Regions from separate parts of the Homo sapiens genome. Here region 1 is linked to region 2. The links are contacts of gene promoters, found by promoter capture Hi-C in human tissues and cell types (Jung and others, 2019). All regions are on one chromosome and are shown on one strand. Each heading gives the region's core, a stretch centred on a gene start or on the middle of the fragment in contact. The rest is flanking DNA. Distances are from core to core; before and after follow the strand shown. Region 1 overlaps FOXK1 (forkhead box K1). Region 2 holds the start of WIPI2 (WD repeat domain, phosphoinositide interacting 2).

Evidence for each region. The method cuts DNA at HindIII sites, captures the fragments that hold promoters and counts their contacts. A contact is called where the count stands out against the background at its distance.
Region 1: a contact is called between a fragment that was not itself captured here and the fragment with the promoter of WIPI2 in region 2, in 1 of the 25 tissues and cell types used here (dorsolateral prefrontal cortex).

The regions. Positions count from the first base shown.
Region 1 is chr7:4,758,008-4,764,472 of GRCh38, forward strand. It overlaps FOXK1 (forkhead box K1), which reads left to right. Exons shown (of 9, transcript NM_001037165.2): 6 at 1,044-1,210; 7 at 1,304-1,588; 8 at 3,057-3,281; 9 at 4,177-6,465. The coding sequence ends at 4,457. Among named protein-coding and RNA genes, the nearest start is that of AP5Z1, 14 kb to the right of the region's middle. RefSeq lists an enhancer at 2,414-3,613. The HindIII fragment of the contact is 4,891 bases long and covers 1-4,812 here.
Region 2 is chr7:5,188,487-5,195,056 of GRCh38, forward strand. It overlaps WIPI2 (WD repeat domain, phosphoinositide interacting 2), which reads left to right and starts at 1,747. Exons shown (of 13, transcript NM_015610.4): 1 at 1,747-2,007; 2 at 4,632-4,685. The coding sequence starts at 1,934. RefSeq lists silencers at 1,532-2,181, 2,192-2,241. The HindIII fragment of the contact is 24,553 bases long and covers 1-6,570 here.

The DNA of each region.
Region 1 (6,465 bases), core at 1,117-3,616, 430 kb before region 2:
GTTCTTAGAAGTGGAAATGTGTGTAGCAATAGGAACGGTTCCTAAGGCCAAGAATAAATGGATTGCGGTTGTGGGTCTTTTGGTAGCACTAAGCTTTCTGTTGCAGTGTGTGAGAGGACCCGGGGAGAGCCCAATCTTCGAAGGGACAGATGAGGGGTATGACCTGGGGAGCCCACAACCGCCTTTGCTTTTCGCAGATGCTGGGAACGCAGCTCTGCTGCCGGCGGGGTGGACAGACCCTCCCCCAGCCATTGCTGCCCACCTGCTGCGTCAGGGCCTCCCCTGCCCAGCTCAGTCTTGGCCAAGCCCAGTCTGGAGGAGCATGCACCGCCTGTGAGCGGTCTGGGCAGCGCTTCCCAGGTTGCCCATCAGATGAGCCCGTCCCAGGTGTCGAGGAGGAGATCTCCTGAGCGGCAGTCTCGGAAATCCTTCCCCGTGGAAGGACACGTTAACCTCTCGTGCTTCCCATTTCAAAATTCTGTTTCCAACACGATTTGATGAAAGATTGAAATATCTGAAAATTCATTTCGAGCACAGGGTCTGGCATTGTGATTCTCAGGTGAACTGGGCGTATGGTTGAGGTAGGACTTCAAAAAAGTGTTCGAACGTCATTTGCAGCATTTAAACTGAGCTCCAAATGACGTTCAAACACCCCTCTCGGGTAGAGTTTTCATGGTGGAACGGTTGCGCCCACCAAACAGAAGCTTATGTTTTTGGCACAGAAGGCCTGGGCCATTTTCATGGACACCTGGCTGGACCTCGGTGGAAGTGAACTCCGTAGGTTGTTGCGTTCACTGCAGCACCTCACATGATACCGTCCCCTCTCATGGAACGGAGCCTCCCCCATGCAGCCCCCACTCAAATGGAGTTTTAAAGGCTGGGTTCAGGTTACGGGGGCGTTTCTCACCGTCTGAATGCGGAGGACAGAGACGAGCTCCAGGGAGCGTGGGCGGGTGACGGCGCTGAGATGCGTGATGTCTCGGAAACGTCCTCGCATCCCTCAGCGCGGGCGCTGACTGCCGCGGCCCTTGCCTGTCTTCCAGGAGCGCTCCAGCTTCGCCCACACACCCCGGGCTGATGTCCCCTCGCTCCGGCGGCCTGCAGACCCCAGAGTGCCTGTCTCGGGAGGGCTCCCCCATTCCACACGACCCTGAGTTTGGGTCCAAGTTAGCTTCTGTCCCAGAGTACCGGTATTCCCAAAGCGCACCCGGTAAGGAGCGGGCGGCCCTCTTGCGGGGCGGGGCGGGGCGGGACTCGTGGGGGTGCGGGAGGGGTCACCGTCCGCTCTCCGCCCTCCGTGCAGGCTCCCCCGTCAGCGCCCAGCCAGTGATCATGGCCGTGCCTCCCCGACCGTCCAGCCTCGTGGCCAAGCCCGTGGCCTACATGCCCGCCTCCATCGTAACCTCACAGCAGCCCGCGGGCCACGCCATCCACGTCGTGCAGCAGGCCCCCACCGTCACCATGGTCAGGGTGGTCACCACATCTGCCAACTCGGCCAACGGATACATCCTCACCAGCCAGGGCGCGGCGGGGGGCTCCCATGATGCGGCGGGCGCAGCCGTGCTGGACCTGGGCAGCGAGGCCAGAGGTAATGCAGCCGCGGCTGGCAGCCTTCGCAGGACCCTTTGTGGTGGTCCCGGCCGGCAAGTCCCCAAGGCAGCGCCATTGGCCTGGGCCTGGGGCTTGAGGAGGATGATTCTCTGCTTCTGCCTCTCGCTGCCTTGTCCCTTTAAATCAGCATGAGCTGGGCAGGTGGCTCATGCTTATAATCCCAGTGCTTTGGGAGGCCAAAGCGGGTGGATTACTTGAGGTCCGGAGTTCGAGGTCAGCCTGGCCAACATACTGAAACCCCGTCTCTACTGAAAATACAAAAATTAGCCAGGCATGATGATGCGCTCCTGTAGTCCCAGCTACTCAGGAGGCTGAGGGAGGAGAATCGCTTGAAGCCTGGAGGCAGAGGTTGCAGTGAGCTAGACTGCGCCACTGCACTCCAGCCTGGGCGACAGAGCAAAACCCTGTCTCAAAAAAAAAAAAACCCATGAATCTCCGCAGATGTGTCCTTCCTTGTTGAACAGGGCCCTCGGATGCACATAGCTGTGTCCTTGCCCTAAGGTAACGTTAAATTGAGTTGTGTTGCGGCCTTGCATGCATTTGGAATTTAGTGTTTTCTGCAGGAGAAAGAATGAGCCTGGGAAGACTGTTCTTTTCGACTCCCTCGTAAGTTAAAGACTTTAGAAGTCATTTAGGGAAAAAGTAGTTCTGAATTGCTAAAAGAAATCCGATCCCAGGGCTTGACGGGGTAGACACTGAACATGCAGCTGACCCCAGAAGCTCCTCTCCGGAACGCCTGCAGTTAGGCAGCGCCCTCCTAGGCCACTCTCCACCCTGGACTTCCTCTCCGCGGTGGTGTTTGTTTCAATGCTGCCGTAATGAAACTGCAGTTTGGTGAGGGAAGGCCAAGTTACAGCTGTAATCAGGATCATTTCATTCCAAGTAATACGTTTTCTTTCTCAGACTAAATTTGGGTTGGTTAAAGCTAAGGTATTTAAAATACTGTTCTAGGCCGGGCGCGGTGGCTCACGCCTGTAATCCCAGCACTTTGGGAGGCTGAGGCAGGCAGATCACTTGAGGTCAGAAGTTCAAGACCAGCCTGGCCAACATGGTGAAACCCCATCTCTACTGAAAATACAAAAATTAGCCGGGTGTGGTGGCAGGCGCCTGTAGTCCCAGCTACTCAGGAGGCTGAGGCAGGAGAATCGCTTGAACCCGGGAGGCGGAGGTTGCAGTGAGCCGAGATGGCACCCCTGCACTCCAGCCTGGGCGACAGAGCAACAAAATTCTGTCTCAAAAAATAAATAAGTAAGTAAAATATTGTTCTAAAACCCTAGTAATTTTCTTCCCAAACCTATTTCACCCATGGGATTTTCCTCTAGCAAACCTATTTTTTCCCAGTGCCGACCTCACTTTCCCCACTTGTCCGACCTGCTGCCCAGGCGTCGAGGAAATCGATTGTCTCGTTGGCCGAGTGTGGTGCTGACTTGGTTCCTGTCCCGCAGGCCTGGAGGAGAAACCCACCATTGCGTTTGCCACAATCCCCGCGGCTGGTGGAGTCATCCAGACGGTGGCCAGCCAGATGGCCCCCGGGGTCCCCGGACACACGGTCACCATCCTGCAGCCCGCCACACCCGTGACCCTCGGGCAGCACCACCTTCCAGTCCGGGCCGTGACCCAGAACGGAAAGCATGCGGTTCCCACGAACAGTTTAGCCGGCAACGCTTACGGTGAGGCCCTGGCCCTGTTCTCCATGCCACATCCCAAGCTCTGTGGCTCCCAGTAGTCAGTGCGGCATGAGAATGTTCTCCCAGTATCTCCCGATCCTCCACTCAGTTCAATTTATTGAGCACCTGCTATACTCCAGGCACTGGGGTAATGCAAAGAAAAAGAGGGTGGAAGGGGCCACCTATCATCCCAGCACCTTGGGAGGCCAAGGCAGGCAGATCGCTTGAGCTCAGGAGTTCGAGACCAGCCCGGGCAACATAGCAAGACCCCATCTCTACATAAGATTCAAAAACTTAGCCAGGTGTGGTGTTGCACGCTCATGGTCCCAGCTGCTTGGGAGAGTGAGGCTGTAGTCAGCTGTGATTGCTCCGCTACCTGCCAGCCTGGGTGACTGAGCGAGACCCTGTCCCTTTAAAAAAAAAGTGGGGGGAAAGAAAACAGGGTGGAAGGAAAACCCAGATCTGCCCACTCTCTGGAGCTCACACTCCATGGGGTGAGGCAAGAGGTCAAAGGAAGGAGGAGAGTTGGGGTGCTGGGGTGCAAGGGTGCTGGGCGGGGGTGCAGGGTACCAGGGCACCGGGCGCATTGTCAGTGGGGTGGCTCAGGGCAGTGCATCTGTGTAAAGGAGTGAGGCAAGCCGTCGATGTCCAGCAGGATCTAGACAGCAATGAGAGGGGCCTCCACCCAACAGGCTGGAGCCAGCAGAGACAGGGCAGATGAGGTGGGGAGGGGACGGCAGGGCCCGCAGGGAGCAGAGCAAGGGTAGCCGTCCTGCCTGGCAGGGGTGCACTGACCTCCGGTTCCGGCTTGGTGGCTTAGCCCCTGTATAGGGGACTTGAAAAAAGCAGCTGGGTCCTAACCAGACCCCAGAGTAACCCTCTTCTTCCTCCACTCCAGCCCTCACCAGCCCTTTGCAGCTCCTTGCGACCCAAGCGAGTTCATCCGCGCCGGTGGTGGTCACCCGGGTGTGCGAGGTGGGGCCCAAGGAGCCAGCAGCAGCCGTCGCGGCCACGGCCACCACCACCCCAGCCACTGCCACCACCGCCTCTGCCTCCGCCTCTTCCACTGGAGAGCCCGAGGTCAAAAGGTCCCGGGTGGAGGAGCCCAGTGGTGCTGTAACCACACCGGCTGGAGTGATCGCAGCTGCCGGCCCCCAGGGGCCAGGCACCGGGGAGTGAGGTCACCTGCAACGCGGGGGAGTGGGACTCACCCAGCGGCGACCCCGAAGCTGGACCCGGCAGCTCAGGCGGCCGCACCCACAGACGGAGGAGAACAGCCCGCGGCGGCCTGTGGGCATCGGCGGCACCTGGACACACCCAGCCCTTTCCATTTGATCGCCTGCCTTCCCGTGGTTTAAGACAAAAACACATAAACAAGTTCAGACAACTGATTGTATGATTCTGGGAATTCTTTGCTTTCCTTTCCTTCTCCCTCGGCACCACCTCCTCTCCCCAGGCCTCCCTGTCGGGCATGGGGAGGAGGTTGGAGCTCAGCATCTTGAGGAATGTGTCAAGACAGCCCCTCCGCTCCGCGCTGCACGGCCAGCCGCCTTTGTCCGGGAGGACAGACAGAAACGCAGCAAGGCACACACCAAGGCTGCCGGGGAGGCCCGGGCACCGGACAGATGCCTGTTGGGAAGCCAGGAGCTGCCGAGCCACGGACCACCTAACAGCCTCTCCGCCCGGAACGTGACATAGAGAGTGTTGGCATTAACTCGGGGGGTGTCCGATTTCACTTCAGACCCCAAGTTTTTCTTTGTTTGTTTAAACATGGAATTCAGACTTCATTGTACACCTGAGACAGACACAAAAGGGATCATGTATTTTTGAGGATTTTACCTGTTGACGTCTGATGACCGGCCGTAGGTCCAGGGTTCCCGCTGGGTTTAATCCCCTCGAAGAGTAAACCTGCCGCTCTGTCTGATAACTTCAAGTAAGAGCAGCGGCTTCCTGGGTTGGCGTTCGCGGTGGAAGGTTCCTAGGATGAAAGGTGAGCCTGGATCCGCCGGCCGCAGACATCGCGCTGCTGGGGACGATTGGGGCCGCTGCTCTGCAGACCAGACCTTCCCGAATTATCCGTGGCTCCGATGTCCCGGTGCTGACGGCCACATGGGGACCTAACAGTGCCAAACGCCATCTGCTCCAGCTGCTTTTTCACCCAGTTGCAGAGTCCTCACCACTCCCACATTGATCTGCTGTTTTCAATTGGAACCATTTCTCCTGCCTGAAACTCCAGGGCCCCTCCCTGGGCTGTCCGTGAGCAGGAGACCCCACCCCAGCAGCAGTGGTGAGCAGGCCTGTGCCTCCACGCCCAGCCCCCGCCAACGCGACTGGTTTTGTTTGCCACACGGTGAGAACCGGAGGACGGGATGCTCCAGCCAGTTGGGTGGTTCTGGGGTCCCTGAGGAAGCCCCCTCCTGCACTTCCATTAAGACAGCCAGTGGTTCCTGGATCTTTGTCACCAAGCAGCGTTGAGCCAGAGCTGTCTAATGCTGAGCCCAGCTCAGGAAGGAGAGAGGAGTCCTTCAGTGTGTCTTGGAGATGCGAAGTGCGTCCTCGTAAAGGTCAGCTGTCAGTTTTGCTGGCCGCTCCGGCGCTGGCTCTCCTGTCCGGGACCACAACGAGAAACAGCGACAGATTCGACGCAGAGCTCCGGAAGTGCCTGAGGAGCAGTGGTTCTTGGAAATCGCCCGTCCTCCGCATCACAGCCTCTCACCAGCAAAGCAGCCTCTGCCCAGGCCCTGGCGGGAGAGCTGCAGAGGGACCCAGGTGCCTGGAGGGCATTTGAGGGAGGTGGCTGGACAGGTGTCTCCCTGAAGAAGAAGGGAGAACACTTTTCAAAGTGATTCCGAGGCAGTGCGGGAGGACACACGTGCTGTGCAGTGGAGTGGGGTCGCCCGTGGCCCCCATCAGAGTCCCCGTCCCCCAGGACAAGTGCAGAACCTCTGTGGGCCCCCTCCTTCCACCTAGATAGAGAAAACCCCTTGTTCGGTTTCCTTCCCGTGTCCCGTTGTTTTTCTAAGCCCCCCGAATTGAGTCGTTTCTATGGCACTAACCTTTCCATGGGAAATAAGCTCTTTGTGGAAGTCCGTACCTGTTGCCCTGGGTGAGGTTTCAGAGAAACGGGGGCAGGATGAACACAGCCGGCTGTCCTGGGTGCAGTTACGTCCGTGGAGGGTGAGAGATT
Region 2 (6,570 bases), core at 497-2,996:
GATCTCGGCTCACTGCAGCCTTCACCTCCTGGGTTCAAGCAATTCTCCCATCTCAGTCTCCTGAGTAGCTGGGATTACAGGGCCGTGCCACCACAACTGGCTAATATTTTACATTTTTCCTAGAGACAGGGTTTCACCATGTTGGGCAGGCTAGTCTCAAACTCATGACCTCAGGTGATCCACCTGCCTCAGCCTCCCAAAGTGCTGGGGTTACAGGCGTGAGTCACCATGCCCAGCCTATTTTATTTTACTTTTTAGATGGAGTCTCACTCTGTCGTCCGTCCAGGCTGGAGTGCAGAGGTGCAATCTCGGCTCACTGCAACCTCCACCTGTGGGGCTCAAGCAATTCTCCCACCTCAGCCTCCCTAGTAGCTGAGATTACAGGTGCCCACCACCATACCCAGCTAACTTTTGTACTTTTAGTAGAGACGGGGTTTCACCATGTTAGCCAGGCTGGTCTGGAACTCCCGACCTCAGGTGATCCACCCGCCTCAGCCTCCCAAAGTGCTGGGATTACAGGTAAGAGCCACCACACCTGGCCTTCTATTTATATTTAAATATCTCCCCATTATAACTTCTCTGAGGGAAAGGAGGAGGCCTATTTAGTTCACATGAGAGGTGCGTCCTAAATACTGTTGAATGAATGAATAAATTTAAGGGACGATTCTGTCCCAGGAACCCAGACAGTATGGACCTTGGAGAAACAGGACGTTTCCAGTCTCAGATCTAGCACTTGGCTAATAATTATTTCTGAGCCTCGATTTTCAAATCTGTAAAATTAAGATATACTATTCTCTACTTAGGATTGTAATGGGCATCAAATAAGATAATGTGGCTGGGCACAGTGGCTCACATCTGTAATCCCAGTACTTTGGGAGGCCGAGGTGGGAGCATCACTTGAGGCCAGGAGTGCGAGACCAGCCTAGGCAACAGAGTAAGACCCCCCCCGCCCCCACCCCATCTCTACAAAAAACTTAAAAGTTAGCAGGGTGTGGTGGCATGCATTTGTGGTCCCAGCTACTTGGGAGGCTAAGGTGGGAGGATCGCTTGAGCCTGAGTTTGAGGCTGCAGTGAGCTGTGATTGAGCCTCTGCACTCCAGCCTAGGCAACAGAGCGAGACCTTGTCTTTCAAAATAATAAAATGATAAGGTAATGCGCAGAAGCATTCAGCACAGTGATTGGCACATGGAGGGCCCATTGGGGTGTTTTTGTTTTTGTTTTTGTTGTTGTTTGAGACAGAGTCTCGCTCTATGGCCCAGGCTGGATGGATTGCAGTGGCATGATCTCGGCTCACTGCAATCTCCGCCTCCTGGGTTCAAGCGATTATCTTGCCTCAGCCTCCCGAGTAGCTGGGATTACAGGCGTACACCACCAAGCCCGGCTAATTTTTCTTGTATTTTTAGTAGAGACGGGGTTTCACCATGTTGGCCAGGCTGGTCTCGAACTTCTGATCTTAGGTGATCCGCCCGCCTTGGCCTCCCAAAATGCTGGGATTACAGGCCACCGTGCCTGGCCATTGAGTGTTATTAAGAGGAGGGTACGCAGAAAACAGACTCCCGCCAGCTCTGCCCCATGCGCATGAGCGGCCGCCGCTCGCCCTCAGCCAGGCCCAGCGCGCCCCGACGCGTCCCCACGCCTGCGTGATCCACCGGAACCCAAGCCCAGGCAGGCGGTGAGAGGGCGGGGCCTCCGCAGTGCGACTGCGCCGCTCGAGGCCGTGCGTCGCGGGGGCGGGGCCGCGCAGGCGTACCGGGTGCCCCGGCTCTGGAGCATAAACAAGAGCGGGGACGGGATGAGGCGGCGGTTGATCCCAGGGTGGCGAGTGGCGGCGACCGAGGCGGCGAGCGGGGCCCGGCGCCGACCCTGAGTGCAGCCTGACCCGCCCTCGCGCGCGCGCCCTCCCCGGCCGGGCCCACTCGCCGCGCGCCCAGCCATGAACCTGGCGAGCCAGAGCGGGGAGGCCGGCGCCGGCCAGCTGCTCTTCGCCAACTTCAACCAGGACAACACGTAAGGCCGGGGTCGGGGGTCGGAGTCGGGGTGAGGCCAGGGTCGGACCCGGGCTAGGGGGAGGGCCTCGCTGCCAAGCTCGGCGGCGTCGCAGGCTCGGCCTCCCCGCGGGCCAAGGCGCGCAGAGGCGTCCCCAGGGGCGGGCCCGGGGCGTGCAGGGAGGGGCGCCCTCCAGGGAGACCCTCGGGTGCTGGCCTGGAGCTGCGGTCCCGGAGCGGGAGAGGTGGTGGAGAGGGGGCTGCTTTCACCCTCTTGCGGGGAGGCCCCCTGGCTTCAGACTTAACTACTTCTCGCAAAGTTGGGGCCGAACTTTGGGGCTTGACTTGTCTTGGCCGCCTGTGGAGCGCTGGGTGTGGGTCGCTTCCTCTCCTCTCGTCTCCTCTTCCCGCTGCTTGCTCAGCGTCTCCCACTCACTCTCCTTTGAATCAGGCCCTTCTCCTTGTCTTTTCATCGTCTTAAGACCCTTCTCTCTCTCTTGATTTTCTTTTCTTCGTTTCTCACTGTTTTTTTGTTTGTTTTTGTTTTTTGGGGTTTGTTTTGTTTTGAGACAGAGTCTTGCTCTGTTGCCCAGGCTGGAGTGCAGTGGTGCCATCTCAGCTCACTGCAACCTCCGCCTCCTGGGTTCAAGCGATTCTCCTGCCTCAGCCTCCCGAGTAGCTGAGACTACAGGCACGCGCCACTGTGCCCAGCTAACTTTTTTGTATTTGTAGTAGAGACAGGGTTTCACCATGTTGGTCAGGCTGGTCTCAAATTCCTGACCTCAAGTGATCCGCCCACCTCAGCCTCCCAAAGTGCTGGGATTACAGGTGTGAGCCACCGTGCGCGGCCCTCCCTGTTCTTTTTGGGACATCAACTTTGATGTCTTCTCCAGCAAGTAACAAACTTAGCAATAACCTTGGCATCTGACCTAGCTAGGGAGAAACTGAGCCAAGAGAGGCGTTACGGACCAGTGCCCCAGGAGTCTCAGAGCTCCAGCGGGTGGGTCATCCTCAGGGCAAGAGAAGGCCTTAATGCCAGCCCGTGCATTCGGAACGCTGTTTGTCCCCACTGATACGGGTTGGATGCTGCCTGGGAGGAGGACTTGTGGGGATGGTTAATAGATGAGCGAGCTTTCTGGAGAGAGAAGGGTGAGTTATGGGGTTGGCAGGGAGGAGAGCCATCTTGGAAGTGAGTAAGAGGAAGTGAGGAAAGAGAAGGAGTGGGGCATTTGGCATCTTACTAAGTCATTGGTTGAGTTGTTACTGGCTGAGTGGAATTAACATAGCAGAAGGTAAGATTCTTTAGGAAATTAAAAGTGAATTGTAGAATGGACAACACTCAGTGGGTGGTGTACAGCAGGCACTCAATAGCACCTCCCCAAAGCTGTGAAGACAGTCGCACAGTGGGACTGTATTGAGAGTCGGAAGGGGCAAATCACCTCATCCAACTACAGATGAGGAAATCCTTCCGAAAGGCTCCAAGCTGGTCTGGGTTTTGGAATTGGTTAATAGTGGAGCGGGGGCAGGAGTGGAATCTCGCCTCCTGAGCTCTCTTCCAATGTTCTTTCTGCTCTGCCATGCTGTTTTTTTTTCTGTTTACAGAGTAGAATTCTGAAGACAGTGAATTTAGAAATAATAGCATAACAACGTGTAAAGATGAAAACTCCCAAGTACTGTAGCGTTCTGTGTGACCAAAAGCCAGAACAACAAACAATTCGGACAACCTGTTGCAGTTCAAGTGGAATAGACTATGTTAATCCAGATAGGGAAAAGGACACATCCCAAACCAATTCTAATTTGGTTTTTAAGCCCAAGGCCACAGTATTTTGAGACCAGTAAGAAATGGTAGTAGTAGTAGGGTGGTTTATGCCTTGTATAAATTAGAGAGTTTCCAAAACATTGTCGGCCACTCTTTCAGTTTTTCACTAATTATTTCTATCAGAATGAAATCAAATAGAGAAAAGCATTCTCTTTTACTGTTACTTCAGCTGGACTGCCATGTTCCCTGTGTCACAGAAGAGTGTCACTCTGGCCTGAAATAGGACCTTTTCACACTTGGACATTTTCACACTTACCCACTTCTCCATGCTCCCCGAAGTTATTACAGTTCAAGAGATTTCTGTTACTTTGAGATTTCATAACTTTGACTTGCCAGAGAGACCTTGATGTAGTGTAAACCTAAATTGGAATGAATAGTAAGCTAGGATTATACTAGAAGTTGACTGGGCTAAAATGACGGTAATTTGTTTTAAATCTACACTTGAAAGAAATAGAGAAGTTCCCGGAGAGAGCTTTTATGGCTTATACCTTTTCCTCCCTTCTTAATCTCCAGAATTTATTGAGGAGCACAATTTTTAGCAAGTGAAAGAATGACCGTCTAGAACTCACATTTACTGTATGCAGTGAGAAAATTTGGAAGCCAGTTCACTTACTAGAATATATATGTTATAGGGTCATTTCCCTTTTTTTTGTCTTTTAAATTCTTTTTGTATTTGTTACATACCAAACTATAACTGTCCTGCCTTTCTTTACTGGTAATATGATTTCCAATGTCGTACTTTTTCATGATTCCTATCCTAAAAGTGTGCATAAGTTTTATTTGTTTTTTACCATTTGTTTTTTGTTTTGTTTTGTTTTTTTACCTAGAGAAGTGAAAGGGGCATCAAGAGCAGCTGGTCTTGGCCGTCGCGCTGTTGTCTGGTTAGTTCCAACCCTGGTTTCTGAAAGTATCACCTTGGAAGGCTTATGTTAGAGGACTTTTTTGGCTTTTTGAAATTGCAGTGAACCAGTTAATAAGTGGGAGAGGATCACTTGAATCTGAAATGGAAATATCAAGGACTACATTTTTCCAGTGGATACCACAGCTTGTGGGAAGTTAGTGATGTAGCAATGTCTGTTTTAAATGCCATGTCTAAAAGGGATGGAATGAAGAAAGGGACTTGACTTTCCAAGTCTTGTGTTTGTAGAATTGATGTTATGAAGTGTGTGGAGACAACAGGAGAAACCTGTTGTTTTCTTCCACCATGTCTCTTCTAGGTTATGCTTATTGTGCTGGGAAGGTACTGCTCTCCTCTCTTTGTTCATCTGTAAATCAAGGGTTTGGGTTTTTGTTTTTGAGATGGAGTCTCACTGTTGCACAGTTTGAAGTGCAGTGGCATAGTTATAATGATCATAGCTTACTGCAACTTTGAGTTCCTGGGCTCAAGCGGTCCTCCTGCCTCAGCCTCCCGAGAAACCGGGACTACAGGCGTAGGCCCCACACCTGGCTAATTTTTTTTTTAGTTTTTGTAGGCACAGGGTCTTGCTATGTCGACCAGGCTGGTGTTGAACTCCTGGCCTCATGCGATCTTCCTGCCTCAGCCTCCAGAGCATTGGGATTACAGGTGTGAGCCGTTGTGCCCGGCCTGAAGATGGTTTCTAAGATCCTTCACCCTTAAAGTTTTAAGTAATTCTGCCTGCTATGCAAAGGATATGTTTGAGGAGGGCAGGGGGTGACTTAGGAGGATATCATCCAACAGCAGTGACCAGTGGGAAGGAGACTGTCTCGCCATCAGGACTTGTGTGACCCACAGGACGTGCATCATGCAGCCAAGGGAGAACTTAGGTGACGCCCAGTTTCTGGCTTGGGTTCTGGGTGAATGTGATAACATCGTGGTGAAAAAGCCGAGAAGGAGAGAACTCTGCTTGGGGATACTGATGAGTTGGAAAGGCCACAGGGATATGGAGGTGGAGGATGTGAGGGGGAGCGGGGATGGGGGTGGGCTGTCCATAGCCCTGAAAGAGAGGGCACCAGGGCCTCCCAGGTCTGGGCTGGCAGCCACAGTTGAGGTTGCTTTTGGTTTACAGTGTCGGGCTCTATCCGCCTAAGCACGCAATCAAGTATGGCTTCTCCGCAAAGATGATGAAGAAGGAGAGTCTTTACGGACTGACGATTAGGGAAGGGGGAGAAAAGGAAAATAAGCAAAAAATCTGACTCACATCTTCATTTTTGAGTGGCAGTCACTGTCTCTTTGATGTTCAATGTTCAAGTTTAAATTCATTGACGGAGACTTTCAGTTAAAAATGATGGATCAAACATAAGCATTTATTTTGGTTCCATCCCCAGACCCTAATAAAATGTTAATCAGTAAAATGTCAAAAATATACATTTTCTAATTTTAAACATTTCTTAATTTTTTATTTTTGTAGAGATGGGGTTTCACTTTGTTGCCCCAACTGGTCTCAAACTCCTGGCTTCAAGTGATCCTCCCGCCTGGGTAGCTCAGATTGCAGACGCAAGCCACCACCCTTGACCTCAAAAAGATATTTTAAAAGGCTTAAACTCATACGATAGAAAGAATGAGAAAGGAGATATTAGCCAGTTTGGAAGCTAGCGAGTGGTAAAGGAAGTGGGATCTCAAATTGCTAGTGAAGAAAGCAGAGAACCAACCTAGTTTAAACTGCAGAATCCCCTCCAGGCTCAGGAATGGGCAGGCCAGGGCTCCAGAGGCGGGCTTGTGGGGCCGTGAAATGAGGAGGATGTGTTCAAGTGCGTTTAAAAAGCAGTGACTCTGTCCTTCCCTAGAGAAGGACAGGCCTACTCTCT